7 separate regions of the Homo sapiens genome follow, and regions 2, 3, 4, 5, 6 and 7 are each linked to region 1. Evidence: promoter capture Hi-C in 16 types of primary human blood cells and fetal thymus (Javierre and others, 2016). All regions are on one chromosome and are shown on one strand. The core of a region is centred on a gene start or on the middle of the fragment in contact, and the rest is flanking DNA. Distances in the headings are between cores, read along the strand shown.

Evidence for each region. The method cuts DNA at HindIII sites, captures the fragments that hold promoters and counts their contacts. A CHiCAGO score of 5 or more calls a contact.
Region 2: a fragment that was not itself captured here is called in contact with the fragment with the promoter of NT5DC1 in region 1 in 1 of 17 cell types (total CD8 T cells); the score reaches 5.3 in total CD8 T cells.
Region 3: a contact is called between a fragment that was not itself captured here and the fragment with the promoter of NT5DC1 in region 1, in 2 of 17 cell types (total CD4 T cells and M0 macrophages). The highest score is 5.7, in total CD4 T cells.
Region 4: a contact is called between a fragment that was not itself captured here and the fragment with the promoter of NT5DC1 in region 1, in 1 of 17 cell types (activated CD4 T cells). The highest score is 5.5, in activated CD4 T cells.
Region 5: a fragment that was not itself captured here is called in contact with the fragment with the promoter of NT5DC1 in region 1 in 10 of 17 cell types (non-activated CD4 T cells, total B cells, activated CD4 T cells and 7 more); the score reaches 10.1 in non-activated CD4 T cells.
Region 6: a contact is called between a fragment that was not itself captured here and the fragment with the promoter of NT5DC1 in region 1, in 5 of 17 cell types (total B cells, monocytes, activated CD4 T cells and 2 more). The highest score is 7.4, in total B cells.
Region 7: a contact is called between a fragment that was not itself captured here and the fragment with the promoter of NT5DC1 in region 1, in 1 of 17 cell types (fetal thymus). The highest score is 6.2, in fetal thymus.

Annotation. Positions count from the first base shown.
Region 1 is chr6:116,098,472-116,102,862 of GRCh38, reverse strand. It overlaps NT5DC1 (5'-nucleotidase domain containing 1), which reads right to left and starts at 2,010. Exons shown (of 12, transcript NM_152729.3): 1 at 1,840-2,010. The coding sequence starts at 1,932. It also overlaps a transcript of FRK not described here. RefSeq lists enhancers at 1,307-1,827, 1,828-2,350 and a silencer at 1,935-2,194. The HindIII fragment of the contact is 3,203 bases long and covers 191-3,393 here.
Region 2 is chr6:116,730,572-116,734,962 of GRCh38, reverse strand. KPNA5 (karyopherin subunit alpha 5) reads right to left here. Exons shown (of 14, transcript NM_001366306.2): 14 at 1-2,827. The coding sequence ends at 2,640. Among named protein-coding and RNA genes, the nearest start is that of FAM162B, 33 kb to the left of the region's middle. The HindIII fragment of the contact is 177 bases long and covers 2,183-2,359 here.
Region 3 is chr6:116,709,062-116,713,452 of GRCh38, reverse strand. The region is part of intron 7 of KPNA5 (karyopherin subunit alpha 5); the gene reads right to left. It also overlaps the pseudogene LOC124901560. Among named protein-coding and RNA genes, the nearest start is that of KPNA5, 30 kb to the right of the region's middle. The HindIII fragment of the contact is 2,132 bases long and covers 815-2,946 here.
Region 4 is chr6:116,690,491-116,694,881 of GRCh38, reverse strand. KPNA5 (karyopherin subunit alpha 5) reads right to left here. Exons shown (of 14, transcript NM_001366306.2): 3 at 2,726-2,827; 4 at 2,490-2,589. Among named protein-coding and RNA genes, the nearest start is that of KPNA5, 11 kb to the right of the region's middle. The HindIII fragment of the contact is 8,500 bases long and covers 1-4,391 here.
Region 5 is chr6:116,672,538-116,676,928 of GRCh38, reverse strand. No RefSeq gene overlaps it. Among named protein-coding and RNA genes, the nearest start is that of ZUP1, 6.0 kb to the right of the region's middle. The HindIII fragment of the contact is 7,093 bases long and covers 1-4,391 here.
Region 6 is chr6:116,650,624-116,655,014 of GRCh38, reverse strand. It overlaps ZUP1 (zinc finger containing ubiquitin peptidase 1), which reads left to right. Exons shown (of 10, transcript NM_145062.3): 6 at 2,823-3,011; 7 at 3,278-3,443. Among named protein-coding and RNA genes, the nearest start is that of ZUP1, 16 kb to the left of the region's middle. The HindIII fragment of the contact is 5,992 bases long and covers 1-4,391 here.
Region 7 is chr6:116,628,555-116,632,945 of GRCh38, reverse strand. It overlaps RSPH4A (radial spoke head component 4A), which reads right to left. Exons shown (of 6, transcript NM_001010892.3): 4 at 3,244-3,379; 5 at 2,394-2,511; 6 at 1-739. The coding sequence ends at 505. LOC124901386 (a long non-coding RNA gene) reads left to right here. Exons shown (of 2, transcript XR_007059721.1): 2 at 2,956-4,391. Among named protein-coding and RNA genes, the nearest start is that of RSPH4A, 14 kb to the right of the region's middle. The HindIII fragment of the contact is 952 bases long and covers 1,588-2,539 here.

The DNA of each region.
Region 1 (4,391 bases), core at 761-3,260:
TACCCACCACAAGGGACCAAGACTAACTCTTCAGCATTTTTGCCTACTGTGTAAGGCTGCCTGGAGGCCTGCGTGTTGATCTCTGTATCCTCAGCTCTAGCATGGTGCTCAGCACACTGTGGGACTTAAAATAAAAAAGATTTCCACACCAAACATGATCCAAAACTCAATAGGTTACTGTTTTCAAGCTTTAAACATCACTTATTCTCCAGGTTTGCAGTAAAAAAACCTCTTGTCTTTGAGAATCTTATATTCTGAAATTTTATGATCACCTATGGACAACACTAGCTCTAACATGACAGTGGTTTAACAATATTACCTCCAAATGAAGGTAACTAAAGAGGAGACACACAAAACTGTGAACCAGGAAGGATTCGAAAGACACAGAGGGAAGGAAAACATGTATCAAAGACCTAGGGGAAGCAGTGGCCAAAGAATCAAGCAGTAAAAAAGCCTTCTTAATTCTCAATGTGACTAAGGAAACCAGACCTGTAAGGTAAGAAAGCAGGAAAGTGTAACAGCAGAAAAAGGACATTTAAAAAAAAATTTAGCATCTGGGCATAGAAAACACACGAGAAATTCGGGCAGCCACTCTTTTTTGACCTTTAACGTGTACCTGAACTGGTGGGTGCAGGAACTGGCGGGTGCCCATAATGGGGCACAACCCTGGCTGATGTCTGCACCAGTGATCTAGAGTTCTACCCATAAACTGTGAGGTTTCCAAATAGTTTGGGTGGTAACCATAAAAGCAAACACTTGTCTTTGCCAAGGTACTATTCTAAGCATTATACATCTCTTACTCATTTAATCCTTGCAACAATCTTGTGAGGTAAATCCAATTATTAGCTCCATTTTACAGATGGGGAAACTGAGAAGCAGCACAGGTTAAGTAACTTCCTCGAAGTCACAGAGCTAGTAACAGTGGAGCTGGTGTCCTAAGCTAGGCAGTCTGGCTGAGGAGTCCTCGCTTTCACCACTGTACTCATAACCAGCTCTTTTTCTGTCTGGATGCTTAGATCTTGGACTAAAAAAATCTGGTAACTTTTCAAAATTAGTTTCCTTGGGAATTGGGAAACCAAAGGAATAGTGGAGGGAGGGCAATTAATTTGAGTGTACAGGTCTGGAAGCATGCATACTCCATGTCCCCCTCCCTCAGGGCACAGTGAGGACCCAAACTTCGCAGACTGTTGGTAGGACTGGAATGTATTCAAAGTGCACGGAGCACGTAGTCGATGCGCAATAAATATGTATTTTCTTCTCTTGATAGAAGGTAAAACTAGGGCTAAGATCTTAATGACTTTTCAACTAGTGTTCCTTTCAATACACTACACTATATACTACGCATCTCTCCCAGATTGCAGTTTAAACACTGATGGGTGGTTGATCGTGCAAACAGAAAAATGCAGCCAAAAAAAATGCAAGTACCAAATCAAGTGGCTGTGTCCACAATCAGCTGGTGTCCAGAAAGACATGCAGAGAAAGTTCCACGACGTGAGATCTTCAAGGACAGCCCTAGTCCCCCTGACCCCGCCCCTCCTCGGCCCTAGAAATCACCGATTCCCCAGCCCGGTCTTGCGCAGTTTGCCCCTCCTTCGTTCTTCCCTATCCCTCTCAACATTAGCTAATGGCTGAGGTAAATGTGCCGGTCCCCACGGCACCGGCGCGGAGCGGAGGCTGCACACTTCCGCCCCTTCTCGCCGCTGGAGGCCGCGCTCTGCGGCAAGACTCGGCCGCCGCAGGCCCCGGGCAGCGTCCGCCGTTGCCCAAACCTGGAGGAAACTCAAGCCCCAGCCGCCATGGAGGTTGCGCGCAGTGCGCCCCGGAGCCCGCGCCACTCACCGGGGCGCTCTCGGGCAGGTTGTAGCGACACAGAGTGTGGTCCAGGTCGAATCCGACCACGTCGCAGGCGGCCAGGGAGAAGTGCTGAGCCATGGCTGCGCGGGGAGCACCAGGGAGCGCCTCGGCCGCGAAGGGTGCAAGGAGCTGGCTGGCGGGACGCTGCGGGACAGGACCGGGCCGGACGCGGCGGGGCGGGGCTGCGGCTGCCAGGGCACACGGCGCGGCAGCCTCTCCCGCCTCCCGCGCCCTCGAGCACCGCCCCTCGATACGCTTAGCCCCCGCCCCTCGCGCGGCGGGCGTCCTGCGCCGCCCGGAGTCAGGTAGTCAGCTCGCGTCCTCCTGGTACCCCAATGCCGGCGACTCCTGATCTGTTCCGCAAGCCTAGGAGCCCAGAAGGCAGTAGGGGTCCAGGAGCGGTGCCGCTGCTGCACAGCTGAGACCTGTAGGCACGTAGCCTTTCCCGAGGGCTACCACAAAATTAACCGGGACACTCCATCGCCTCAGGGCGCCTCGGAAACCAGGAGATCATGAGGTTAGACCTGACCTTTTACCCCTGTGTGAGGAATAGTAAGATCATAGAAAAAATTCATCCGCTAATATCCCTCTGACCCAGTTAGCCTACAATTTGGAAGGTCTTTTCACCCACGTGATCTTTGATAGTGGTTTAAACCAAAAACTTTATATTCCTTGGTTTCCTAAGTGGTTAAGTGGAAGACAGACCTTTCACTATTTCATACCCTGGAGTGCGTTAGAAAATAAATGTATCAGACATCGTGAAGAACCATTTTGCAAGATGATACTTGTTATGGAAACCAATATTGGTTATTACTTGATAATCCTATTTTGTTATTGTAATGAATTTTTTATGAAAGGGCATCAGAAACTTCATAGAAATATATAGAGCATACTACAAAAAACTTTTGCAAACCGGGTTTAAGGTTTATAGAGCACAAAATGTTTTGAGTGACATTTGCTTAATTCTCTCAAGAACTGTATAACTACTACCATTTTAGATGCAGAGAAAGTTAATCCATTACATACAATGTATGCCTTAGGGCATTTAATTCTCTTCCTGATTTCCGGATGTGAAGGACTAGCACTTTGAGATCTTTATTACATAGTACCTCATTTTAAAAAGAAAATACAAATCTATTATGTTTACACTGCTTCAGTTCTCAATTTAAAGGAACAATGTGTCTAATGGGACAAATCAATAGTCGTGACATAATGAAAATATAATTGATTGAGAACTGCATTTAACCCTTTCAAATACTAATCCTTCTGAGGCTAATAGACCAATCAGAGGATTAATTTAGTGCAATAGATAGTACAATTGAGTAGGAGGACACTTATACCTAGTAGACCCATTTGAATAAAATTGATAACTTGTTCCATTATAACACTTAAAAGCCCCAAACAAATCTCTCTGGAATAGGAAAAGTAAAGAATCTTCAAGAAGATTAAGCTGTTCACTGATGAGTCCAACAATCATGTTTTCAATGTCTGTGAACCAAAAGAGAAAAGGCTGGATTGTTGGAGAGGCTGGAAAAAGCTTGTTGGCCCTGGAGCATTGACCTTGGCATTCTCCTCTGCACCTTGCAATAGAATGCTACCAAAGTCAAACTTCCAGGTGCATGCCACATTGAAGGGCACATGTTTCCTTGGGGAATATCTTGTTTCATGTGGGAGTAGGTGCTTTAGGTACTTTAGGGACTTCCCTTAGTAATACAAATGTACTAGTACATTCATTGTAAGAGGGAAGAGTATAAAAGGATTGTTTTTTGTTGACTTAGCAAAAACTTCTCCTTACAAAACCTCTTGAGTGTGCTGAATTGTGAACAGGAAATTGACTTGGGGTAAGGGGAGAGAGGGAACCAGGGCACTCTTAAAGAGAAAAAGACCCCTGGGTCGATAACCAAGTGGTCCTGGGACTGGATCTGGCTATTACATGCACATCAACAATCTTATGTACTTGCTGATTAACAAATTATATATATTCTGCATGTTTGCACAAACAGTTCTTGTGCTAGAGAGTCCACATCATTTAAACTTTGTGGGAGAATTTTGCAAATGATCCAATCCTAGAGGCTTGTACTCTTTCTTGAGCCCCACTCACCTTTCCTTTGTACCTCAAACCTCAGTCTGACTCTTCCAGAAATATAGGGGATGGTTCCCTTCTCTTCTCCCATTCCCTACATAACCCTGAGTTTAAATACAAACACTCAGTTTAATTGTTTCATAAGGCTTATTTTTGGATAAAGATATTTCATTTTCCCTGCACATTAAACTTTTATCACACTTACTGATAAAATGCCACAGCTCTTGTATTATCAACTACAAGTTCAGTCTTCTACTTAGATACCAATTAATTTCTGTTTCTTTGAGTATCATGGACTGAATTTTGTCCCCCACTCATTCATGTGTTGAAGACCTAACCCACAATGTGTTTATATTTGACATAGGGCCTTTAAGGAAGTAATTAATGTTAAATAAGGCCATAAGGGTGGAGCCCTAATCCAACAGGATTAGCATTCTTGTAAGAAGAGGAAGGG
Region 2 (4,391 bases), core at 1,022-3,521, 630 kb before region 1:
TTAATTAAATAAATGAAAAGGACTCTTTCAAGTATTTTCTTGATATTTGCATTAATGCTACATGCATTCCTCTTTATAACACTTTTTTTCGGCATAGTTTCTCTTGGATTTAAATATAACAAATCTTAGAAAAGCAAGTTAAAAAAGTATTTTTCCTCCCACAAGGGCCAGTGAAGACTACTGAAAACACTTTTTGGAGCATTTTATTTATTTTTTTCTTTTCTTTCTTTCTTTTTTTTTTTTTTTCCTGGTCAGGGCTCTGCCTGATGAAATATTTTAAATGGTATACTTGAAAAGAGTAGCTATATTTTTGAAGAATTTTCATCACAAAGTTATTTGTTAGTCTTGATCCAATAAACTCTTAACAATAAGCCAAGCCAAGCCAAGCCAAGAGCTGGTCCCAACTGCTATACAGTGCTCTTTGCAATCAAATCTAAAATTAATTACCCAAGTAATATATTTAAGGAAATAAATAAAACTGTATTTAAATGCTTATGAAGTATAATCACAGTCTGTAGAGATATGTTTGTTTTACCGGCAAAATTTAAGTTTCCTTTCACAGGTCATTCTGTGTGCATGCATCAACACACACATATTTATTATTTCTCCTTCTATAAGAACTATCTTGTTTGAAAAATTTGGCTTAGAAATTTATTATAGTGACTACAGGGTCCTCAAAATAAAAGGAGGCACAGCTGGTTAGTTTATGAATCATGCTGCATTATCAATTTTAATTGACTAGAAAGAGTAGAATACCCTGTCACCTGATACTTAGAACCATCTGCACCACAAAAAGGTTAATCTGATAAATTCACCATCAATTTGGTAAGCTTTAATATAACTACCCTGTTTTTTGAATACAGATAATGCAAAAGAAAACCATTTTATACTCGGCTATATACCTTCCACTACGAAAAAAGGGGCACAGATACAATCTTCTACTTAATAATAAAAAAGGGCTGGCAGATGCACTCAGCATTACGAACACCATTTAAACCTGTATTTTACAGCTGTAGGTTTTAAGTATCTTGTCAAAAGCTTAGTTTCATGATATGTAATTTACAAAGTGACATATTCTTTAAAAGTACTCCTATATACATTTTCCTCTTGGAACGTGCCTCTGATTTCCAGCAGAAACATTACAAATACTATCATAAATGAAATCTTTTTTTAAAGAATAGACCATGAATCATATCAAAATTGCCTTAGTTCTCATCTTAAAAAGAGTTGTAAACTAAGTTTTAAGTAAGTATTCTAGGTATACAATTGGACACATAAATAGCCTACGTATAACTATAAATTAAAAGATTGAGTTCAACAGTAGTTGAACTGTGAGAGTAACACACACACATATATATGTATAAATATATATATAATTTTTCTATTGAAACCTTTCTTTCAAATTTTCCGTTTGAAGAGGTTTTTGCTGTTAAATCATAAAACATACATATTGATCAATCTGACATGAATGTAATCTATGATTCATAACAAGCAGCAGAATGACCCTCTGAGTATTACTAAAAGAAAAAAGTCTTATAGATTTGAACCATATTAAAGAACCTTTAGCAATTTTCATTATCATTTAGCATCCAAATGTTAAATGCATTTAATACAATTTAACACATAATAAGGTTATTTCTTCAGGGTAATTTTGTCATTCGAGTACCTAAACTTGTACTTGTACTTAAACTTAAACTAGTACTATTATACAGAAAATGAAACTTTTCAATTACTGCTCTGAAAAATCAGAGAAATAATTAGTTATTATTTTAGATATGCAGCACTACTTTAGATTCATGATGACATCTCTGTCATGATGCTCTTTAAAACAATGAGTGAAAAACAATAAAACACTATTTCAAAAATGGTAGCATATTTGGTTGAAATACAAAATATACTAATATACATAGCACTTATATGTTAAAAACAGAAATATTTAAACATTTTATAAAGTAATCTTTTTAATGTGTTCAACATGAAAAACAGCTTCTCCCTTCACAATTGCCACATTTTAATGGATTATCAGTATAATATTTCTTCTGTTTTATAAATAAATTTTATAGGTTTTCTGTTGCAATTTTTTGCAAAGTATAACCTACAGCACAGTGATATGTATAATTTAAGGTAATAAATATTTTCACATTCTAATTTAGCATTTGCATTATTTCATGCTTCTGAAGCTTTTTTGTTTTTATTTCTGCTTCAAGATAGAGGTAGATTTAGTAGAGATTAGATGTGTAAGACTTACTGCCAAAATGCAATTATCAATAGGTTTACTGCTAATGTGCAGTTTCCAAGAATGCTTGAAAAAATTCAGAATTACTAAGTAATGCTTCACCAAAATTCTCCTTTTCAAGCTTAAATTACTAAATAATTGCATATTCAATTATTCACAAATAGATACAAAAATCCAAACAATAGAAGATATAAATACAGGCACAACAACAAAACTAAAACAACAACAAACTACAATGAAAGGTTGCATCTGAATGGAAATTTTTGTTTCATTTTGCTTTCTAAAAGTGCATCAAATTCTCTTTACTGTTCTATGTAAAAAAACAAACATTCTTACATTGGCAACAAAGAGGAGTTACCTGAAGCTACCCTTTTTAGCCATAAATTTTTTTTCCTCCAGTAAGTTAAAGTTGAAATCCATCCATTGGTGCTTCCTGCTGCTGAAATATAAACTGTTGTTGGTTTTCATCCACCTGAGGTACAATGCTGGGGTCATCTTCTTCTACACCAAAGTAATGTTCAATCAGATCAAATGCCTTCTGGTAAATTTCCTGATTTTCATGGCTTTGCAAAAACTCAATTTTATCCAGACCTGTTATACAAAGTATATATATATATATATATATATATATATATATATATATATATATATAAACAAACTGTTACTACAATTTCAGTATATGTTTAAATCAAAATAATAAGTGAACATCATCTATCACCTCACTGGCAACGGGACTATTTTAATCTAACTGTTGCACATACCGATAGCCATCACTTACGATTTATACTTCAAGAATGAGAGTATGTAGCAGTGTCATACGAAGAAGGACCATAGGCCTGGGAGTAAGATCACAGACACCACCCTGCTAGGTGTGTGATCTTGGCCAGGTAAGTTTAGTTCTTCTGTTTCTCAACTGTAAAATGGCAGTTTTAGATTAACTCCACAGGTCCTTTCTAGAGTAATTAACAAAGCCCAAAAAGGGAAAGCAACAAAACAAATTAAATGAAGAAAATAAAACACGCTGAGCCAGAGAGTATCACTATGAAATAAATGTGTAAAATTTCCAAACCCATACAATAAAAAACATATGGCTGTTGTGCGGTTTAAAAGAATTACAATCTACAATTGAAACTGAAAGGCCTCATTTTGAAAAGATGAGAAGAATCTATAGCAATCGATTTTACTGCTTATCAGAAAAAGCTCTACACGTAAGTCTGGGTAGTGCTGAAAATACATTTCATTTAATTACAGATAAACGACTTCAATCAGATTATCACAGAAAAAAAAGCAGCAAAGCAGTCCTATCTATACACAATCACAGAATAGCTCAAACCCTAGTCTGACTCGGGGTCAAAATAATGACTGTAGTAAGACAATATTCTTAAATCAGTGACTAATATCTTGTATTCATGTAATGTCTTATCCAGTGATGTTATATAATTTGAAAGAAAGACAAAGTGATATCATGGGCTTTAAGAATCAAAAATAAAAGTCTGAATCACCCATACAATGTAAGAGGACTTAATACAGAAAAGTGAATATTTAATGCAAATAAAAGAAAATCAATTTAGATTCATGCCTTATCTAAAATAAATTCCATATGATTAAATGTTTTAAGAACCTAATTTTTAAAACTTGGCAAATAAAAAAATTAATTTTCATCAAATCTCTGTGGAGGCAATGACTTTGTAAACTTTGAAAGAATAGAAAATTAGACTGAGTTATTTAAACATAAATGAACATGGTATGTTTTATTAAAATAAAAGAATGTGTTCAATGGATGATCTGAAAAAAAATAGACCGAGGAAAAAGTCATATCAAAATAAACTACTATAAAATAAAATTCAAATTTTTACCAAAAAAAAAAGTCAAATAGATAACCAGACAAAGTACAATAAATATGCAATTTGGATAAGGACACAGACTAACTCATGAAAAATACATACTACTATCTATAGGAAATAAACCAAAAAATGTACATAAAAGCAACTTGGTGTACTATTTTACATCTGCTGAGTCCACAAAATAAACAAAACAAGTATGAGGTTGTAGAATAGATTCATACAATGCCAGTGACACTGTCAGCAACAGGCCTTTGGAAAGCAAAATGAGAAGACATCAAAAGCTTAAAAAGAAGTCAGTGCCCTAAGACTCA
Region 3 (4,391 bases), core at 631-3,130, 610 kb before region 1:
GTGTAAAAAGATTCCTCATAAAGATCAATAGCCGATTTCTCATCAAAAATCATGAAGGACAGAGGCAATGGGATGACATATTTAAAGTGCTGCTCTCAACCAAGACTTCAATATCCAGCAAAACAATCCTTCCAAACAGAAGGAGAAAGTGAGATTCCCACATGAGCAAAAGCTGAGGAAAGGCATCACTAGCAGATTGGCTTTACAAGAATAGCTAAAGGGAATCCTTTATGCTGAAATGAAAGGGCCATAAACAATACCTCAAAACCATACAAAGAAATAAAGAATACTGCTAAAGATAGCTACATAGGTAACTCTAAGAGCTAGTATTATGGATTTTTTGGTTTGTAATTCCTCTTTTTTTCCCTACATGACTTAAAAGTAAAATGCAAAAAAAAAATCATTATAAATCTAGGGTAATGGGCACACAATGTATAATAATGCAATTTGTGGCAATAACAACTTAAGAAGGGTGAGACAGATATGTATAGGAGTAGTGTTTTTGTATAATTTTGAAGGTAAACTGCGAGTAATTCAATCAAGGTGGTTACAAGTTTAAAGTGTTAATTATACTCCTTAGGGTACATTAAAAAAAAACTTTTTAAAAAAATAGGAAAGGAAACAAGAAAGGAATCAATAGTATAAATTATTTTAAAAAAAAAGTGACATGTGGAAAACAAATAACAATGGCCAGGTGCTATGGCTCACACCTATAATCCCAGTGCCTTGGGAGGCCAATGCAGGAGAATCGCTTGAGGCCAGGAGTTTAAGACCAGCCTAGGCAACATAACGAGACTCTGTCTCTACAAAAGCTTAACTAATAGTAAAACGGCAAAAGTAAGTCCCCATTTATCAGTAGTTATATTAAATGTAAATGAATTAAACTCTCAAATTAAAAGTAGTAACTGGCAGAATATATTAAACAAAACAAAACAAAACCCATAAGTCTACGATGCTGTCTACAAATGACTCATTTTAGAATCAAAGACATAAATAGGTTGAAAGTGAAATAGAAAAAGATTTTCCATGCAAATAATACACTTGATCTTAGCCAAAAGGCCGAGAAGCGATTTTCCATGCAAATAATAACAGAGATCCGAATAGTTACACTAATGAGACAAACTAGACTGTAAGTCAAAAATTGTTTTCAGAGACAAAGAAGAACATCATATATTGATAAAAAGTCAATCTATCAGGAAGAAGTAACACATGGGTCAGATGTGGTGGCTCATGCTTGTAATCCCAGCACTTTGGGAGGCTAAGGTGGGTAGATCGCCTGAGGCCAAAAGTTCGAGACCAGTCTGACCAACATGGTGAGACCCATCTCTACTAAAGATACAAAAATTAGCTAGGCATGGTGGCACGTGTCTGTGGTCCCTGCTATTCAGGAGGCTGAGGCAGGAGAATCACTTAAACCTGGGGGCGGAGGTTCAATGAGCCGAGGCTGCACCACTGCACTCCAGCCTGGGCAACAGAGCAAGATTCTGTCTCAAAAAGAAAAAGAAGTATCACTTAAAAACTTACATGGTCTAGGCCTAGCGCAGTGGCTCACGCCTGTAATCCCAACACTTCGGGAGACCAAGGCAGGTGGCTCACGTGAGGCAGGGATTTGAGACCAGCCGGGCCAACGTGGCAAAACCTCATTTCTACTAAAAATACAAAAATTAGCTGGGCTTGGTGGCACATGCCGGTAATCCCAGCTACTCAGGAGGCTTTGGGAGACCAAGGCAGGCAGATCACTTGAGCTCTGATAAATTTTTGAAAAGTGAAATCATAAAAAGTATCTTCTCTGACAACAATGGAATGAAACTAAAAATACAGACAGAAAACTAGAAAATTCAGAACTATGAGTAGAGTAACATACTCTTAAATAACTAGTGAGTTAAAACACACACACACACACACACACACACATATGCAGAAAATACTTTGAGATAAATAAAAAAAAAAACACACCAAAACTTAAGGGATGTAGTGAAATTAATACTCAGAAAAAAATTTATAGTTGTTAACACCCCATATGAAAAAAAGATAACCTTCCACCTTCAGAAATTACAAAAATTAGAGTAAACAAAACTCATAGCTAGCAGGAGGAAGAAAATAAAGTTAAGACCAGAGATAAAATACAGAATAGAAAAACACTACAGAAAATCAACTAAACAAAAAGGCAGTTCTTTGACCCAAAAAAAAAAAAAAATCAACAAAAACAAGCCTTTATCTAGATGGACAAAAGGAAAAAGATTCATATTACTACAATTTGGCTGGGCGCGGTGGCTCACACCTGTAATCCCAGCACTTCAGGAGGCTGAGGCAAGCGGATCACCTGAGGTCAGGAGTTCAAGACCAGCCTGGCCAACATGGTGAAACCATGTCTCTACAAAAATGCAAAAATTAGCCAGGCATGGTGGCATGCACCTGTAATCCCAGCTACTTGGGAGGCGGAGGTGAAAGAATCGCTTGAACCCGGGAGGCAGAGTGTGCCGTGAGTCGAGATCATGCCATTACACTCCAGCCTGTGCAACAGAGCAAGACTCCAACTCAAAAAAAAAAAAAAAAAAATATATATATATATATATATAAAATAATATTACTACAATTAAGAATGAAAGTAGAGACATTACTATCAGCACTTCAACAAAAAAAAATTATATGAGAATATTATCATCAAAAGCCAAGAAAGATAAGCTGGAAGAAATGAAAAACCACTTAGAAACACAGAAACTACCAAACTGACTTAAGAATAGAAAATCTAAATAGAACTATAACAAGATATAGAATTCTAATCAAACACTTCCCAAAAAGGAAAAGTCCAGCACCAGATGGCTTCACTGGTGAATTCTACCAAACATTAATGAATAATTCTCAAACCCTTTCAAAAAATAAGAGAACACTTAAAATAATGGAAAGAATGTAACTGGATTATTTGTAACTCAAAGGATAAAAGCTTGAAGGCATAGATACTCCATTATGTGCTTATTTCACATTGAATGCCTGTATCAAAACACCGCGTGTACCCCATAAATAAACATATCTACTATGTAGCCGCAAAATTTTTTTTTTAAAAAAAGAGAACACTTCCTCATCAATTCTATGAGGATAGCATTACCCTGATACCAAAGACAAAGACATCAAAACAAAAGTTACAAAAGAAAAAATATTTCTTCGGAATATACATACAAAAATCCTCAACAAAATCCTAGGAAACTGAATCTAGCAGCTTATACTATGACCACATGGCATTTAACCAAGCAATGCAAGGAAGCTTCAAGATACAAATATCAATCAAAATAATAAACCATATTAATATAATGAATTTAAAAAAACAAGTTATCTCATTGGATGCAAAAAGTATTTAAAAGAGCTCAACATCCTTTTATGATAAAAACACTAAACAGGTCAGGCACAGTGACTCATGCCTGTAATCCCAGCACCTTGGGAGGTCGAGGCGGGCGGATCACGAGGTTAGGAGATGGAGACCATCCTGGCCAACATGGTGAAACCCTGTCTCTACTAAAAATACAAAAATTAGCTGGGCGTGGTAGTGCACGCTTGTAGTCCCAGCTACCTGGGAGGCTGAGGCAGGAGAATTGAACCCAGGAGGCAGAGGCTGCAGTGAGCCAAGATCATGCCACTGTACTCAAGCCTGGCGACAGAGCATGACTCCGTCTCGAAAAAAAAAAAAGAAATAGAAGGAAACTACCTCAACAGGATAAAGGGCATTTATCAAAAACCATAGCTAACATCAAACTGAATGGTGAAAGAGTTAGTTTTTACTCTGAGATAAGAAAGAAGACAAAGACACTCATTTTTGCCACTTCTAAATAACATTGTAATGGAAGCTCTATCCAAAGCAACTGTGCAACAAAAAGAATTCACACAGCCAACTTGGAAAGCAAGAAATGAAACTATCTTTTTTTAAAAAAAATTTAGAGATGGAGTCTTACCATGTTGCACAGGCTAGAGTGCAATGACTATTCACAAGCATTATTATAGTGCACTACAGCCTCAAATGATCTTGACCTCAAATTCGACTTCAAGACCAGCCTGGCCAATGTGATGAAACTCCATTTCTACCAAAAATACAAAAATCAGCCAGGCATGGTGGTGCACGCCTGTATTCCCAGCTACTTGGGAGAGTTGAGGCATGAGAACCGCTTGAACCCAGGAGGCTCCTGACCTCAAACGACCCTCCCTACTCAGCCTCCCAAGTATCTGAGACTACAGGCATGTGCCATTATGCTCAGCAATGAAACTAACATTATTGACAGATGACATGATCTAATATATGGAAATCCACAACAATCTACAAAAAAACTATTAGTGTTAATAAATTCAACAAAGTTGCAGGATGCAAGATCAACATACAGGCCAGGTGTGGTGGCTCACACTTG
Region 4 (4,391 bases), core at 1,231-3,730, 590 kb before region 1:
TACAGTGTATTCCCTTTGACCCCCTACTTCACTTTTATGAATATATATTAAGGAAATTTATATTGCTTAACAATTATTGTAGCATTTTTATGGTAATCTAAAATTGAGAAAAATTTAAATGCCTGATTACATTATTTTGTGATTTTAAATGCCTGATTACATTATTTTATGCTCACACTCTATGATATGATACCATTTAAAAAATCATGTCTGATTGTATATCTAGAAAACCCCATCGTCTCAGCCCAAAATCTCCTTAAGCTGATAAGCAAATTCAGCAAACTCTCAGGATACAAAATCAATGTGCAAAAATCACAAGCATTCTTATACACCAATAACAGACAAACAGAGAGCCAAATCATGAGTGAACTCCCATTCACAATTGCTTCAAAGAGAATAAAATACCTAGGAATCCAACTTACAAGGGATGTGAAGGACCTCTTCAAGGAGAACTACAAACCACTGCTCAATGAAATAAAAGAGGATACAAACAAATGGAAGAACATTCCATGCTTATGGGTAGGAAGAATCAATATCATGAAAATGGCTATACTGCCCAAGATAATTTTTAGATTCAATGCCATCCCCATCAAGCTATTAATGACTTTCTTCACAGAATTGGAAAAAACTACTTTAAAGTTCATATGGAACCAAAAAAGAGCCCGCATTGCCAAGATAATCCTAAGCAAAAAGAACAAAACTGGAGGCATCATGCTACCTGATTTCAAACTATAACACAAGGTTACAGTAACTAAAACAGCATGGTACTGGTACCAAAACAGAGATATAGACCAATGGAACAGAACAGAGCCCTCAGAAATAATGCCACGTATCTACAACTATCTGATCTTTGACAAACCTGACAAAAACAAGAAATGGGGAAAGGATTCCCTATTTAATAAATGGTGCTGGGAAAACTGGCTAGCCATATGTAGAAAGCTGAAACTGGATCCCTTCCTTACACCTTATACAAAAATTAATTCAAGATGGATTAAAGACTTACATGTTAGACCTAAAACCATAAAAACCCTAGAAGAAAACCTAGGCAATACCATTCAGGACATAGGCATGGGCAAGGACTTCATGTCTAAAACACCAAAAGCAATGGCAACAAAAGCCAAAATTGACAAATGGGATCTAATTAAACTAAAGAGCTTCTGCACAGCAAAAGAAACGACCATCAGAGTGAACAGGCAACCTACAAAATGGGAGAAAATTTTTGCAATCTACTCATCTGACAAAGGACTAATATCCAGAATCTACAAAGAACTCAAACAAATTTACAAGAAAAAAACAAACAACCCCATCAACAAGTGGGCGAAGGATATGAACAGACACTTCCCAAAAGAAGACATTCATGCAGCCAAAAGACACATAAAAAAATGCTCATCATCACTGACCATCAGAGAAATGCAAATCAAAACCACAATGAGATACCATCTCACGCCAGTTAGAATGGCGATCATTAAAAAGTTAGGAAACAACAGGTGCTGGAGAGGATGTGGAGAAATAGGAACACTTTTACACTGTTGGTGGGACTGTAAACTAGTTCAACCATGGTGGAAGTCAGTGTGGTGATTCCTCAGGGATCTAGAACTAGAAATACCATTTGACCCAGCCATCCTATTACTGGGTATATACCCAAAGGATTATAAATCATGCTGCTGTAAAGACACATGCACACGTATGTTCATTGCGGCACTATTCACAATAGCAAAGACTTGGAGCCAACCCAAATGTCCAACAATGATAGACTGGATTAAGAAAATGTGGCACATATACACCATGGAACACTATGCAGCCATAAAAAAGGATGAGTTCATGTCCTTTGTAGGGACATGGATGAAGCTGGAAACCATCATTCTCAGAAAATTATTGCAAGGACAAAAAACCAAACACCGCATGTTCTCACTCATAGGTGGGAATTGAACAATGAGAACACATGGACACAGGAAGGGGAACATGACACACCGGGGCCTGTTGTGGGGTGGGAGGAGGGAGGAGGGATAGCATTAGGAGATATAACTAATGTTAAATGACGAGTTAATGGGTGCAGCACACCAACATGGCACACGTATACATATGTAATAAACCTGCACGTTGTGCACATGTACCCTAAAACTTAAAGTATAACAAAAAAATAAAAAATAAATAAATACAAATAAAAATAAAAAATCATGTCTGAAAAATATTTCTACAAGAATTAAAAAATATATATCTCTAACCTTATTTCTTGGCAGCAGGATTAATCTTTTTATATTTGCCTCTTTAACTGCTTTTATATTTTTACGATTTTTCTACAGTCAACATATGTTACTTTGGTAACATCATGTTCAAAAACGGATGTTACTTTACAATATATTTTGCAGAGAATATAACACCTGTGTCTAGCAAAGAAAGGTATTTTAAAATTTAAAAAAAAACAATAAAATAAACCTCTACTAAAAAATCGTGTAATATCAAATAAGCATACTGAAAATAATTCTTGCCTTTAGAAAGCAGCTTTCTAAATTTCTGTGTTGCTGTTAGCTGTTGATCAGCATTATTAGAAAAAATCATCTGAACCATATCTGTAGTAACAACTTCTTCCTAAAACACACACACAAAAATATAATTAACATTTACATATTTTACATGAATAATTTTGCATGCATAAATATTTGTTATACATACTATTGCTAAAATTATTGAGGTATAATTTGAAACATATTTTGGTAAAGTATACCTCTGGAATGGGTACAGTGGAACTAATATCTGGATCCTGTATAGGACTTTCAAGCATAGATTCATCATTTCTGGGCAAATAGACATTTCTGCGTTTGAACAACTGTAATAAAGAGAAATCAGTTTACACATTGAGCTTTCCATAAAACATTAAGTTGCCATAGAATTCCATGTTTTCATTTGAGTGGACAAAAGAAACCTATCAATTTTATAACTTAAAATTCTGAATATTTGAGTATTTCCCAATCATTATACTAGGAAGATCTAAGGTATTTATGAGAAGTCAAATTTCTGGGCTAGCTTTTGGCTGCACAGACTACTTCACGTCACTTTCAATCTCAGATCTTTTACCAACAGTAAGCGTGTAAGTGGAATACACATGGTCATTTTATAGCACTTAAAAAAGCACATATTTACACACTGGATTATGAGGTATCTAAGAATTTTTGCAAGAAAACTTAAAAAGCACATCTGTTGCATATGAAAGATAACATCTGATACATTAACAGATTTAGTATATCTGATTAACAAGGAATAGAAAACAAATCTTAGGAATGACAGTACTATGCTTATTAATTCAGGAGCAGATAAAAATGAAGCAGAAAAAAAGAAGAAAGAAACATGGTGAGTTCACTAAAGGAGATTTATAGGTACAGTTGGCCCTCCATATCTGTGAGTTCCACATTCCCAGATTCAACCAACCTCAGATCAAAAATAATAATAACAATAAAAAATAAGAAGCCAAGCATGGCAGCACGTGCCTCTGGTCTCAGCTACTTGAGAAGCTGAGGTGGGAGGGCTGCACAAGCCCAGGAATTGGAGGGCAACCTGGGCAACACAGCAAGACCCCATCTCTTAAAAATAAACAACAACAACAAAATACGAAAATAAAAAATAATACATATTTTATTTCACTTTATTTTATTTTTTGAGACGGAGTCTCGCTCTGTCTCCAGGACAGAGTGCAGTGGCACAATCTCGGCTCACTGCAACCTCCACCTCCTGGGTTCAAGCGATCCTCCTGCCTAAACCTCCTGAGTAGCTGGGATTATAGGCGTGCGCCACCATGCTCGGCTAATTTTTTTATTTTTAGTAGAGACGGGGTTTCACCATGTTGGTCAGGCTGGTCTCAAACTCCTGACCTCAGGTGACCCGCCCACCTAGGCCTCCCAAAGTGCTGGGATTATAGGCATAAGCCACTGAGCCCGACAATAATACATATTTTAAAACAACACAGTATAACAACTCAACTACACAGCATTTACACTGTATTAGATATTATAAGTAATCTGGAGATGACTCAAAATATACAAGAGGATGTGTGCAGGTAATATGCAAATACCATGCCATTTTACATAAAGGACCTGAGCATCAGTGAATTTTGATATCTGCAGAGGATCCTGGAACCAAGGGATAACTCTACATTTCCTAAATCAAAATTTGAGGAAAACAAAATCTGCTTATATTCTTTTTGACATCTAAATAAATATCGTTCTTCTTTTTTTTTTTTTTTTTGAGATGGAGTCTTACTCTGTCGCCCAGGCTGGAGTGCAGTGGCATCAACTCGGCTCACTGCAAACTCTGCCTCCCGAATTCACGCCATTCTCCTGCCTCAGCCTCCTGAGTAGCTGGGACAACAGGCGCCAGCCACCACGCATGTCTAATTT
Region 5 (4,391 bases), core at 546-3,045, 570 kb before region 1:
AAATGTCTAGTTGATGTATTACTCTTTAAGTAGGAACACCTATTCACCGTAAGTTTCCTCCAAAACAATCCTTGATGCTGCTACAGAAATCACAGGCTGTGACACCTGTAGCCACCTAAACATTCCTTCCAGAGTACGTATATTTTCCCTAAGATATAAGCCCTGGGTTTAGAGAGTTAGCCCTGGGTTTAGTGGTATGGAGATCTACCTGTCTTGCGGCCACCCAAGACCACGCTTCTGTCTGTAAGTTCCCCTAATAAATCACCCAAGACCAATTAACTTGATTTTTCTGCCTTTTTGGGTTCTTGGCTCCTTCAACATTTGGCAGTTGCTTTGCATATACAGCCCTTTCACGGAACACAGGGAAACAGACTGAGATTCAAGATTTGCCACCTGATATTTATTGCAGAGTGCTCTTTGGGAATAATAACAGGAGTGAGGAAGCAGGATTCTACAGAGAGATAAATTATGTTGCATTATTAGCAACAGAGACTTCAGACAATCTTATAGGAAGTGCAGAAGCTGGGATGGCCCTTCAGAATTGTCACTGTTGAGGCTAGAGGCTCATGTTTCTATCACTGAATCAAGAAGTCTTTGGATATCACTGAATCAAATCCAGAGAGGAGGGTTAATCTTGGGTGAGGCAGCAGCTCCCTTTGACCAGAGTGCAGTTTCTGAAGTGGAACTTGGCCTAGAGCCCTCATCATTGGGGGAAGAAAATCCTTTAGTCCTGAACCAGAACTTGGGCAGTGTACCAAAGGTTCTACCACACATACTTTTTCAGTTTTCCAAAGATAAAGAAATGAATGGCCTTCTTTCAGCTTCATGCCTCTTCTTTCTCATCCTCCTTATTTAGTCTTCCTCCTTTAAGCAACCTATAAATGTTGGCGCCAGGCCTCTTACTTTGCTGCATTGCCTCTCTAGGTGATACAACATACTCCTGTATTTTTAAAAGCCATCTACCTATAAACCACTTTCTCCCAAATTCAAATTTCCATCCCTGACCTCTTCCTGGAGGTCTAAACTCATATATCAAACCTCCATTTGGATGTCTGATGGGCATCTCAAATTTAATAAGCCAAAACAGATTTTTTTATTCTATCCCATTCCACTTTATTTCTTTCTCAGGCCTCTTTATCTCTGTAATGATACAACTACGCAGCCAGAAACTCCAGTTAAAAAACTTATGAATCATTCTTTACCTTGCCCTTACCAGTGCCTCCTGTCTTTCGCTTCTAGCTCCAAAATAGTCCACATCTACACCTAGTCCATCTCTACTGACACTTCTTCTAGCATTCCATCATTTATTTCATAAACTGCAGTAGTATCCTAATTAAGCAATCTGTATCTACCTTGACTCCTTTATAATCTATTCCCTGTCCAGAAGGTGTAGTAATTTACAATTAAATTTTTATTTATTGTAATCAAATAATACAAATATATCATTTAAAGGGTCCAATAATAAGTTTATCGTGAAAATTAACACTTCCCACCTGACCATCCCCAGATGCCGCTCCCCAGAAGCTACTATTTTCAACTTGTTTAGGTATTCTTATTGGTATCTCTTTTCTAATTAAATATTTTAAAATCATACACTGCTATTTCTTAATTTGTAAAGTCATAGACATTTTCTATTGTTATAGATGTAAAATGAGAATTTATTACTCATAACTGCACTAACCTCCCAACATACACATTTACACATACTTCCTGATCGCACATCCTCCAATATAGTTCTATCAAAATTATTTTGGTTAAATCAATATTTAAATTTTTATGTAAAAATTACATTCCTTGTATAGTTTTTTATTGTTCTAAAATTAATTGCCTGTTTTCTGTCATTATCATTTGCTTAATTTTCTAACTACTCATCACTAACTCATCTTCAAACACACTGCTGGAGATCTGTATTAGTTTCCTGTTGCTGCTCTAACCAATTACCACAAACTTGCTGACTTAAAATAACATAAATGTATTATCTTACACTTTTAGAGGTCAGAAGTCCAAAATGGGTCTCACTGGGCTAAAATCAAGGTGTCAGCAAAGTTGTGTTTCTTCTGGAGCCTATAGGGGAGAATCCATTTCCTTGCCTTTTCCAGTTCCTTGAAGCTACCTACATTCCTTGGCTTCTGGACCCCTTTCAGCAATTACATCTCTCTGACCTCTGTTTCTGTTATCGCATCTCCTTTTCTAAGACTGACCTTCCTATCTGTCTCCCTCTCATGAGGACCCTTGTGATTACATTGTGCCTACCTAGATAAACCCCTCTTGTCAAGATCCTTAATCACATCTACAAATTCCTTTTGCCATGAAAAGTAAGATATTCACAGGTTCTGTTAATAAGGAAATAGAATCTTTTAAAAAAATTTAATATTAGAGACGGGGGGGGCGGGTCTCACTATGTTGGCCAGGCTAGTCACCAACTCCTAGCCTTAAACAATCCTCCCACCTTGGCCTTTCAAAGTGCTGGGATTACACGTGTGAGCCACCATGCCTGGCCAGGACATAAACATCTTTGAGGGACACTATTCTGCTTAACAGAATATATTTCTCTCAGTATGGTCATAAACATGAAGTGATCTGTCAGTTGCCTCTTTCCTCCCTCCCTCCCTTTCTTTTTCTTCCTTTCTGCCTTCATTCCTGTCTGTTCTCTCTCATCTTGGTAGAGTTTTTTATGGAATTCCATACGTTCTACTTTCTTTTTTTCTTTTCTTTTCTTTTCTTTTCTTTTTTTTTTTTTTTTTTTTTTGAGATGGGGTCTCAATCTGTCACCCAGGCTAGAGTGCAGTGGTGTGATCTCGGATCACTGCAACCTCTGCCTTCTGGGCTCAAATGATCCTCCAACCTCAGCCTCCTCAGTAACTAGGACCACAGGCACACGTCACCACGTCCGGATAATTTTTTGTATTTTTGGTAGTGACGGGGTTTCACCATATTGCCCAGGCTGGTCTCAAACTCCTAAGCTCAAGCAATCCGCCTGCCTCGGCCTCCCAAAGTGCTAGGATTACAGGTGTGAGCCACCATGCCCGGCCCCATACCTTCCACTTTCTTTGCTTCTTCCCTCATTTTGGTGGGAGCTTCCTGGGAAATAATAAGAAATAATGTTTCAGGAGAAATTATTATTAAGTCATGAATTATCATGTCATTTCATTGATAACTAATTTTCCATTGTTTTTGTTGTTATTCCTCTCTGTATCTCTTATTAGTTGGATGTAGAATCCAATTTCTCATTTGATTATTTTCCTTTCCTGTTTTTCTATCCCTTGTTCTTTTTGTTCTGTTTTCTGAGAAATTTCTTGGGCTTTATCTTCCAGGCCTCTATTAATATGTGTATTTTAAAGTATGAAATATTTTTAATCCCAACAGCTATTTCCTATTTTGGATTTAGAGATTCAATACATTTTCTTATCTATCTGAGGATATTAATTGTGGTTTCCATTGAAATTTTTTTCTCTTTCTTTTTTTCTTCAGAGCTTACTTTTTAAACTATGATTATTGTTTAGCTCTCCATCTTACTTGCCATAGGCTGTACTCAAATGCCTGGAACCCTTGAGTATCTATTCATATTTAAGAATAAGACATTAAAGAAACCTTCTATACACTGTGCGTCAGTGGGGCTTGTTTATTCACCAATTGGCAGCCTTCCCACAGAGTGGTAAAATAGGGACCTGGCTGTATCATTGGATAACTTCCTAAAAGTTGACATCTGTTAGGTCTTTCTCTTGGGACAATTGATTTCTCTGGGGAGGAATTTTCCAACCTCCTGCCTTGGAGGCAGAAATCACATATCAAGATGTGATGGGGGAAAAGGAGCAAGAGGTTCATAATTTAGTATTTAGCCTTCCCTATTTCCCATTTTCAGTCCAGTGCCTTTACCCTAAGGATAGGGTCAAGCCTTTGAACCCCCAGGATAGGGTTCATAGCTGGTTTTTTTGGTTCGTTTTCTTCATGAACTAAATCTGTAGTCTTCTATCTGGAAGGGAAAGAGGAGTCTCATGGCAACCTAGCTGTATTAGAGTTCTTCAGAGAGACATAACCAATACTATATACGAGAGGCAATTTATTAGGGAATTGACACATGATCACAGAGGTGGAAGTCCCACAATAGGCCATCTTGCAAGCTAGAGCACCAGAGAAACTGGTAATGTGGCTCAGTCCCAGCAGCCTCAGAACCAGGGAAGCAGAGGGTTTGGCCCCCACTCTGAGGCTAAAAGCCCAAGAGTTCCTGGGAAGCCACTCGTGCGAATCCCAGTGTCTAAAAGATGAATATGGTGCAATCTGATGTCCAAAAGCAGGAAGGAAAAAGGTGTCTTGTTCCAGAAGGGAGAGAGCAAAGAGAGAGAATTCCCTCTCTTTCCTGTTTGCCCCAGCCTAGCCCTCAGCTGACTGTA
Region 6 (4,391 bases), core at 1,244-3,743, 550 kb before region 1:
GCGTTTCTCTAGTATTACATCCAGAACTGGAATGCTAAGTTAAAGGGCGTGCAAATCTTCAACGTTGTTAAGGTTATTATAGAATTGTTTTCCAAAGTGCTTGTAATCTACATTCACACCAGTGTATTTCACACATAGTATGGTGACACTTTTAAATTTTTGCTATTTAACAGGTTATGAGATGATACATGTTTTAATTTGCATTTTCTGGATTACTCCTGAGTTAGTTTCCTCTTGAACGAATTACCTGTTCTCTTCCTTTCTCTATTCTCTATTGAGTTGTTTGTTCTTACTGATTTATAGGAGACTGTTAAGTATTCAGAACACTATTCTTTCATTAGTTATATGAAATCCAAATATCTTTTTCAGGCCTGTGGTTTGTGTTTAAATGTTATATATAGTGCCTTTAATTAGACAGAAGTTTTGAATTTGAATGTAATCAAAGTTCTCAATCTTTCTATTTATTATTTGTGTCTTAAGTAACTCCCCCATCTTTAAGATCACAAATATATACCTTTATGTTTTCTTCAAATATTTATATTTTGCATTTCATATTTTGATTTTAAATCCACCCAGAATTTATTTGCATGTGTATGTTGGAGGGAGGAGGGAGAAGATAGGAATCTGATTATTTTCTCCTTGTTTATAACAGTCCTTATAGCAAGTACATATTATGCTTATTTATTTCACTACCATTTATTGAATCTGCATTTTCTCCACCTATTTGTGATACTATATATTATAGATTTTCATATATCCATGATTCTGTTTCTAAAGGCTGCCTTTATATTTCTTCAGGGGTCTCCATGTAAAAAAGTTCTCACTATAGCATAGAGCATCCTCCAGATGTGTGATATGATTCATTAGGATACAGGAAGAAAATATTAAATATGTCTGTAAAAAAGCACACTGTCCTGTAATATAGAAGTGATTTAGTGGCAGAGATTTTTATTTTTCGTTAATTATGCAAGTGTTAATTTAAGCAGCTATCATTTAAAGAGTCTTCACTTATATACTGCAATCTTGTTATAATTTTAACAACAGAATATAATTTAACTGAAGATAAATTTACTGTGGAAAATATCTAAAGACATTTAGGTGCTAAGGAATAAAAAGTATAAGGAAATTTCCCCCTAAAGCAGTTGCATGATGTTGCTAAGACAGTGTTGCTCTCCATCTGATATGTAACATATATACTAAAATGTACTAGAATGTTTATTACTTTCCTTTCTATTTTTTCTGTCCCCTACTCCACCTCATTCTTAAAGGGCTGCCTCAAATCTTGATCTCTTCATCAAAGTCTATGATATTAAAATCTACATTTAGCTTTCTTTCTCTGAATTCCTAGGGTACCCATTCATTCCATGCTACAACATTTAGTACTCAGTTATATACTATTTTAATTGTTGTTTTTCTTGAATTCAAGTCTTTCTAAGTTCTTTGGAAGTGGTTACAGTGATCAGTATTTCACCTTTTCATGGTGCAAGGCACAGCTACAACTATTGGTTCATTTAACTGTTTTTATTTATTGATCTTTTATTGTCTTTATTAAAGACAAAAACCCATTTTCTTCTAGGAAACCCTTCATTCAAGCAAAAAGAATTTAGTTATTGTCTTTGGTGCCACATGCTATGAGAAAGTTATGGGGCATATAATAAGATCTCCCTACCCATAGGCTTCACAGAGTCTGTAGAGTATGTAAATATACACAAAGAATTATAGTATTCTGTGACTGAATGTTGCTGGTACCTTGGGGACACAAAAATAGGGTAGAATCAGAAAAAGGGTCTATGAAGACAGTAGCATGTGAAGGATCTATAATTTTGAAACATAAGGAGAATATACTAAAAGCAGGAAAGGGGCCGAGTCAGATGTCCCTTGTCCTAACACCTTGTTTTTCCATATTATAGCACTTGTTATAGTTGGGGTCGATGACATTTTAAAGGATATTATCATATTTATCTTTTTGTACTTAGCATTTAGATAGTGCCAGGTGTATTAAAAAGTACTTAGCAAATACTGAATTTGAAAATTTAATAAAACTCTATGGGCCAAATTATGTTTAATGTGTTCAGTTAGGCCACAGCCAAAATTACAGCAAGAAGAGTAGTGTGAAATAAAGATAAGACAGTGGATAGCTTTCTGTAGACTTCATATAACATAGATTAGAACTATTCTAATTAGGTTTATAAGGCTATTAATAAGATTCCTAAACCTATTGTTCTGCCTTAAGAAAAGTTGTCTTCTGTTGTCTCAAACAAATTAATTAATCTCCCCAAATAGCAAAATGGAATATGTTACTAAAGGGTTGAAATTTAGCGTATTGGAGTATGAGATATGTTTATTATTCATGAAGTCAAGAGTTTTTAAATGAAAACATTTGTGTATTCTCATGCTTCGAAAATTGCAAAATCTGCAAAATAAAATCTTAAATTACAAAAAAATTAAAACTATTGGTAATAGGGAGCTATTAATATTTTTTGATTGGGAGCAAATTGATTAAGACTGAGTGATCTCCAGTAGTCTATACAATAAAATGGAGACACAAGAAGAACATTCATTCAACAGTTGTACTTTATGTGCTGGGCCCTGCAGATGCAGAAAATTTCAATGAACTGTAATAAATAATATGCTAGTGTTAGGAAACTTGGACTGTAGTAACAAGCAAGGACACAAACTAAGGTTATAGCAAGAAGAAGGTGAAGAAGATGGAATTAACAGGATTTAGGTATGGTGCGTGAAGGAGAGGTTGATATTAAAAATGTATGAGATAGCAATATAAAGGTGATAATGACTGCTTCTGAATCTCTTTTCTACTTTAGGAATTATTGAAGCACTTCATAGGTATTATCAGAATGCTGCCACAGATGTGAGACGGGTGTGGCTTTCTTCAGTGGTGGATCACTTTCATTCATCTTTAGGCGACAAAGGTTGGGGTTGTGGTTACAGAAATTTCCAAATGCTACTTTCATCATTATTACAAAATGATGCTTACAACGATTGCTTAAAAGGTATGTGAAATCTAGTACTCTGAACTTGTCATCTGATAAAATACATATGATATAGAATGATATAGCATACACAATTAATAGCTTTAACAGTTAGTGGATATTTATATAAGAAACCTGAATTCTGGTTAGAGGAAGAGAAAATGATAGAAGATGTCAGGAATAACTGTCTTAAAAACCGTAAAGTTCCCCGAGTACATAATACACTGCTAAATATTATTCAGTACTTTATTAACAGTCATGTAACATGTTTGCTTGTGTAATTTTAGGTATGTTGATTCCTTGCATTCCAAAAATTCAATCTATGATTGAAGATGCATGGAAGGAAGGTTTTGATCCTCAGGGGGCCTCTCAACTTAATAACAGGTTACAGGGAACAAAGGCCTGGATTGGAGCATGTGAAGTATATATACTCCTGACCTCCCTAAGGGTAAAGTATGTACCTTAAAACCTAAATAAATGTTATTTCCTTATCGGGGAGCTTTGTTTTGTAAAATTTTATTTTTTAGCAAAGAGATAGTTTAAAAATAAAATTAAGTAGCACTAAATTAAGTAGCAATGAAAATCAGCAGCCTATTCACTATCTTGTGCTCTTCTCTACCCTCAAGTTCTGTCTCTCAGAGGCAACTGTCACTTCCATTGTTTTTAAATGGTATGCTTTCATAGCTGTTTCTTGGTTTATGAGTTTCAGATAGTCTGTTTTAATATCTTATACCTGTTTACCTTCAATCCTTCTGATATGATTAAATCTTGGTTTTTATTAAAATCAGAGTTTACATCATTTTATAAAGTCAGATTTTATTATACAATTGTGTAAATATTGCTTGTTGCTGATTTTTTCTAAAATCATTTATAATTTTTCTTGAGTTAATAATTGTGTTTCCTTTTCTCTTTTACTATAATATGTGACGACATCATGGCCTCAAGTTTTTGCACTCTACCTGTCATGTAATCTGAGGCTCTCCTTATTCTCGGACACATCCTTCTTGAGCATTCTGTCCTCTTTGCTCCAATCTGGACTTTTTGCCTTCTAGATCTACAGCTATTGTCATGTAGCATTTTTTCACTGTTTTGTGTGTGTGTGTGTGTGTGTAGTCTCATTTTTAAAATGTATAACCTATTTATTTTCTGTGGAAGTTATTCCAACCTTCTCTTAGCCCATCATAATTTCACGATATTATGAAATTTCACCATGGGGTGTGGGGCTTTGATTCATTGTGTTGGGCATTTGTTTTTCTCTTTGAATCTGGAATTGTGAGTTGTCTAAGATCTTAGTTCCATCTAGGATAGTAGGTAAGAGCTTGAACTTTGGAGCGAGACTGCCTAACCTTGATTCATAGCTTTCCTACTTAATAGCTGAATGAATGAACTTGTCTGTACTTA
Region 7 (4,391 bases), core at 814-3,313, 530 kb before region 1:
CTTACAAAGGTTAAGAATACATTACTCTAGTGACTATCAATATTTTTTGTCTTCATACCCCTTGACACTCTTTAAAAAGTATTGATGTTTCCAAGAATTTCCTGTGGGTTATATCTTCCAGTGTTTGTCGTATTACAAATTAAACCTGAGACCATTTATTTATTTATTTTAATTGTTTTACCTCACCTGGACCATGTGAAACCTGAGCCCTTTTAAAAACAGGAATGTACAAACACATATTCCATTATCCATAACCCTCAGAACAATTATGCAATTGCATGTTATTTAGCCTCTGGAAAATCCTGTGAGTATCTTTCAATAAAAATGCTAATATTTCTACCTATGAAATTTCAAGCTTGATTTTCAAGATTGAGATTTTGCAGTTGAATAATTTCTTACATGTGTATGTATATACACACATAACACAGAAAAGTGTAAAATTAGTCCCATATAAGGGGTGTGTGTGTATCAGTGTCACATAAAACCAGGCTAATTTTATGTTTATTAGTCATAATCATCTTCCTCATCTTCATCTTCCTCAGATTCTTCATTCTCAGCTGCGAGTAGAACTGCTTCTTGTGCAGCCCTGAAAGCCTGCTCCTCCTCCACACTAGGATCATCCATTTCTGTAATTTCTGGTCCACTGGGGTATTCTTGATAAACTGGTGGTGGAACTGGGGGTGTATAATTGTCTGGACTATACTTATGACCCCAGCCTATGTAGAAATTTTCAAACTTTCTATAAGTAAGAAAAAGAAGAAGAAAAAAAGATCATTATATAATTTCTCAGAAAAACTGACCCTTCTGTAATATTAAAGTGCTTAGAATATCATGGTCCTATAATTTAAAAAAGCAATACATGTAAAATGCTAGAAGTGAAATATTCCTCAATGATTCTTCTACCACAGGGAATTGTTTTCATCCAAACTGCCTAAGCTGGTTAAAAAAAAAAACCATGGGGCCAGATACTGTTAAAATGTACCCTACACCTAGACCACAAGCAAAAGCCTTTCTTCCTTCAATTATTTTCAGGGGAGGAAAAAAAAAAGTTACTACCTTCCACAAAGTTAGAAAGATATAAAAATAGCTAACTGTGCAAACTCCTGGTTGGGCAAGGAGTTGGGCTTGTGGTTAGAAACCTATGTGTTACTTTTTTTTAGGCATGACCATAGGCAATCACAAAGAGTTTACCTGGCACATCAGACTTGGAGTACAATGCACTGCTGTCTTTACGGGAAGTTGCAGTCAAGGACGCTGGCCCCTTTGGCTCGTCATGCTCTTCAATGTTTGCATTCCTAGACCAGGTGCTTCCGTTCCTAGGTCTCTTTATCTGAGGCCTTCAGCAGAGGCCTTTCCAGCCCCTCCTTTCTCTGCTCTCTGTGCTCAGCACTTTTTCACTTCTAGCCCTCTCATCCTCCTCTTGGTCTCCAGGTCTGTAAAACTGCAGGAGCCGTTTGAGGATTCCCTTGTCAATGAGATGACCCCAGCACCTCCACATCTATGATAGCCATATCTGTGCTGATCCACCTGACTCTCCAATAGAGGGCCATTCCATGGGGGAAAATGGAACAGGGGGATGTCAAAGCTTTCTCTTGTTTATACTATCACAGTAAATGATTAAAGGCTTAACTCTCATTTTTAGCTTGTTGCTTTAATGGCTACTCTAACACCTGGCCGCTCAGCTTTCTCTCCAGAAATGATCTGAGATTTAAACTAAACATTGCTTAGAAATACCTCCATTAATCTACTAAGTGAATAAGTCATTACCCAAATAATCAATGATGAAAAACCATATTTTATTTCAACAAATTGGATAATTAAGATGAAAGGGTAAAAGTCCAAATTACTACTTAATGTCCTGAATTTGATGTTTTATTGTGTATCACAGATGTTATTTTAATAAATTTTATGCCACACACACATAATATGCCAAAGATGAGTTAAAACGATAGTAGCAGCTGGGCATGGTGGCTCAAACATGTAATCCCAGCACTTTGGGATGCTGAGGCGGGGCGGATCATGAGATTAGGAGTTCAAGACCAGCCTGGCCAACATGGTGAAACCTTGTCTCTACTAAAAAAAAAAAAAAAAAAAAAAATACAAAAATTAGCTGGGCATAGTGGTGCATGCCTGTAATCCCAGCTACTGGGAAGGCTGAGGCAGGAGAATGGCTTGAACCCAGGAGGCGGAGGTTGCAGTGAGCCGAGATCATGCCACTGCACTCCAGCCTGGGTGACAGAGCAAGACTCTGTCTCAAAAAAAAAAAAAAAAAAAAAAACACGAAAAAAAAAACCAAAGAAACAACGATAGTAGCTTAACATTCTAGTGGTTATTTATAATTTCCAGAGCTTAACTAATCACAGAAATGGCTTTGTAAGTGGTCAGATACTTACTTGCCATTGGAGAAGGCATATGCTCCAGGCCAAAGGTTGGATTGAAGGACTGCAATAGCATATTGTGGAATGAGATTTGAGGATAACCGTGTTGTCCAGGGGGGTATATTCTGAATCTCTGGAACCCAAAGAGAAATGCAAAAGCTTAATTCCTAACTAGACAAGAATCTACTGTGTAAGCTATTTTTATAAATACACACACACACACATGCATGCACACACACAGATACACACATACTTGATACAGAAAGAAAAAACAGCAGCAACTTAACAAAATCAGGAGGGTACTTCATGAATGTTTTGGAACAATGGAATTTGAAATATACATCTCCATTTTTGCAAACAAGACAAGAAGTTTTATTAAGGGAAAGGAGGCTTATGTGGTAGAGTGAGTAATATTTGATGGCCCAATGAAAGGTACATCATTAATATGAATAAGATCAAGGGTTGCAAGCACAAATACTCCAAAACTGAAGGGAAAGAGACAAGAATATAGGAATGAGAGTAGAGTTTTTAAAAACCAGGACGAAGAATATTTATGCCATTTGTTTATGGTCTGCAGAATGCAAGACAAGAATAATAAAGGAGACAATTGTCAGCATTTCCAGAAAGCGCTACAGCCAACTTATGTTTCCTGTCTGCATGACTCCTTCAACCTCTGTCAGAGAACATTGATGTGGCCAGCTACATTCTTCACTCCCTATCATCCCAGAACATGAATGGGAAGAGGATGAGACCTTGGCTCCTGTCCAGTTTTTAGAGCTTTCCGACTCTCATATTTACTATATAATGCACACAGTATATTATATTGTTTGTGTGTCTGTGTGTGATAATAGTTACGTAAAATAACCTAAATCTTCAGAGATTGGTGTCAAAAGAGGAAGCCCCACTTCCTGTTCTATGTAGTCAGAATCGTCTTTTTCTTCATCTTCTTCCTCTTCTTCTTCCTCATTTTTTTGTATGGAGTTGAACCAATTACAGCGACCCTGGGAATGAATGTTGCAAGATTTAGTAGTCTAATGGGGACCTTAAAATTTCAGATTATTCATTTGAATTGATCAGGATGAAGTGTAACTCTGTGGGAATTTAATCAATTATTCATTCATTCATTCTACATACATTTTCCAAGTGCTATTTTGATCTAGGTTGTTTCAAGGAAAGGACCGTGCTATTTATTTTAAGAATTTGCCAAATTCTTGAAGTCACAGAATGTGTATTTTTAAATTATCACTTATATTTTAAAATTAGCAGAACCTTAGTGAAAAAGGTAAGAGTGTATTTTACTGGTTTGTGGTAAATAATTTATGTGAGAGAGCTAAAGCTATTATGATGATTATTATTAACAATAACATTTAAATGTGGTAAGATTATTTATGGAGGTTTAGGGTTTATAATGTCTCAGTTAGCTCTTATGTAGAGAAAGCTAAGAGTATCTCTTATCTAGATCAAAGTATAACGAAGATTTTCTACCTGCAGATGAGGTAATATAGCACAGGGGTTAAGTGGATGCACTGGGTCCACTCTGTGCAGCCTCACATCTGATTCTGTTCCTTATTAGTTATGTTCCTTTTGTCACATTTCCTAAACTCTCTTTCAATTTCCTCATCTGAAAATTAAGGATAATAATACTATGTCATGGGGTTGCTGTGAAGATTAAATCTTGTACACACGCACAAACACACACCCCAACACACACACACCTGGCACAATAGGTATTATATAACTGCTATACAGCACTGTTTCCTTGCTTTTTGTTTTTGTTACAATCCCTTATTGTTCTTGGCACAAAAGCTACATGTATTATAGAGATAAAATTAAAGAACTATTTTCAAAATTAATGTACCCATCTATATTAAACATATAAAAATTGAGTAATTTCAGAACACACAAATCTAAATCTGTACATCATCTGTCAAACGCTCCATAGAAGAATGTGTTTTATTTTCAAATAGAAAATAAAGTCTGTTTGGAGATCCCTGGGACCTTCAGTTATATAGA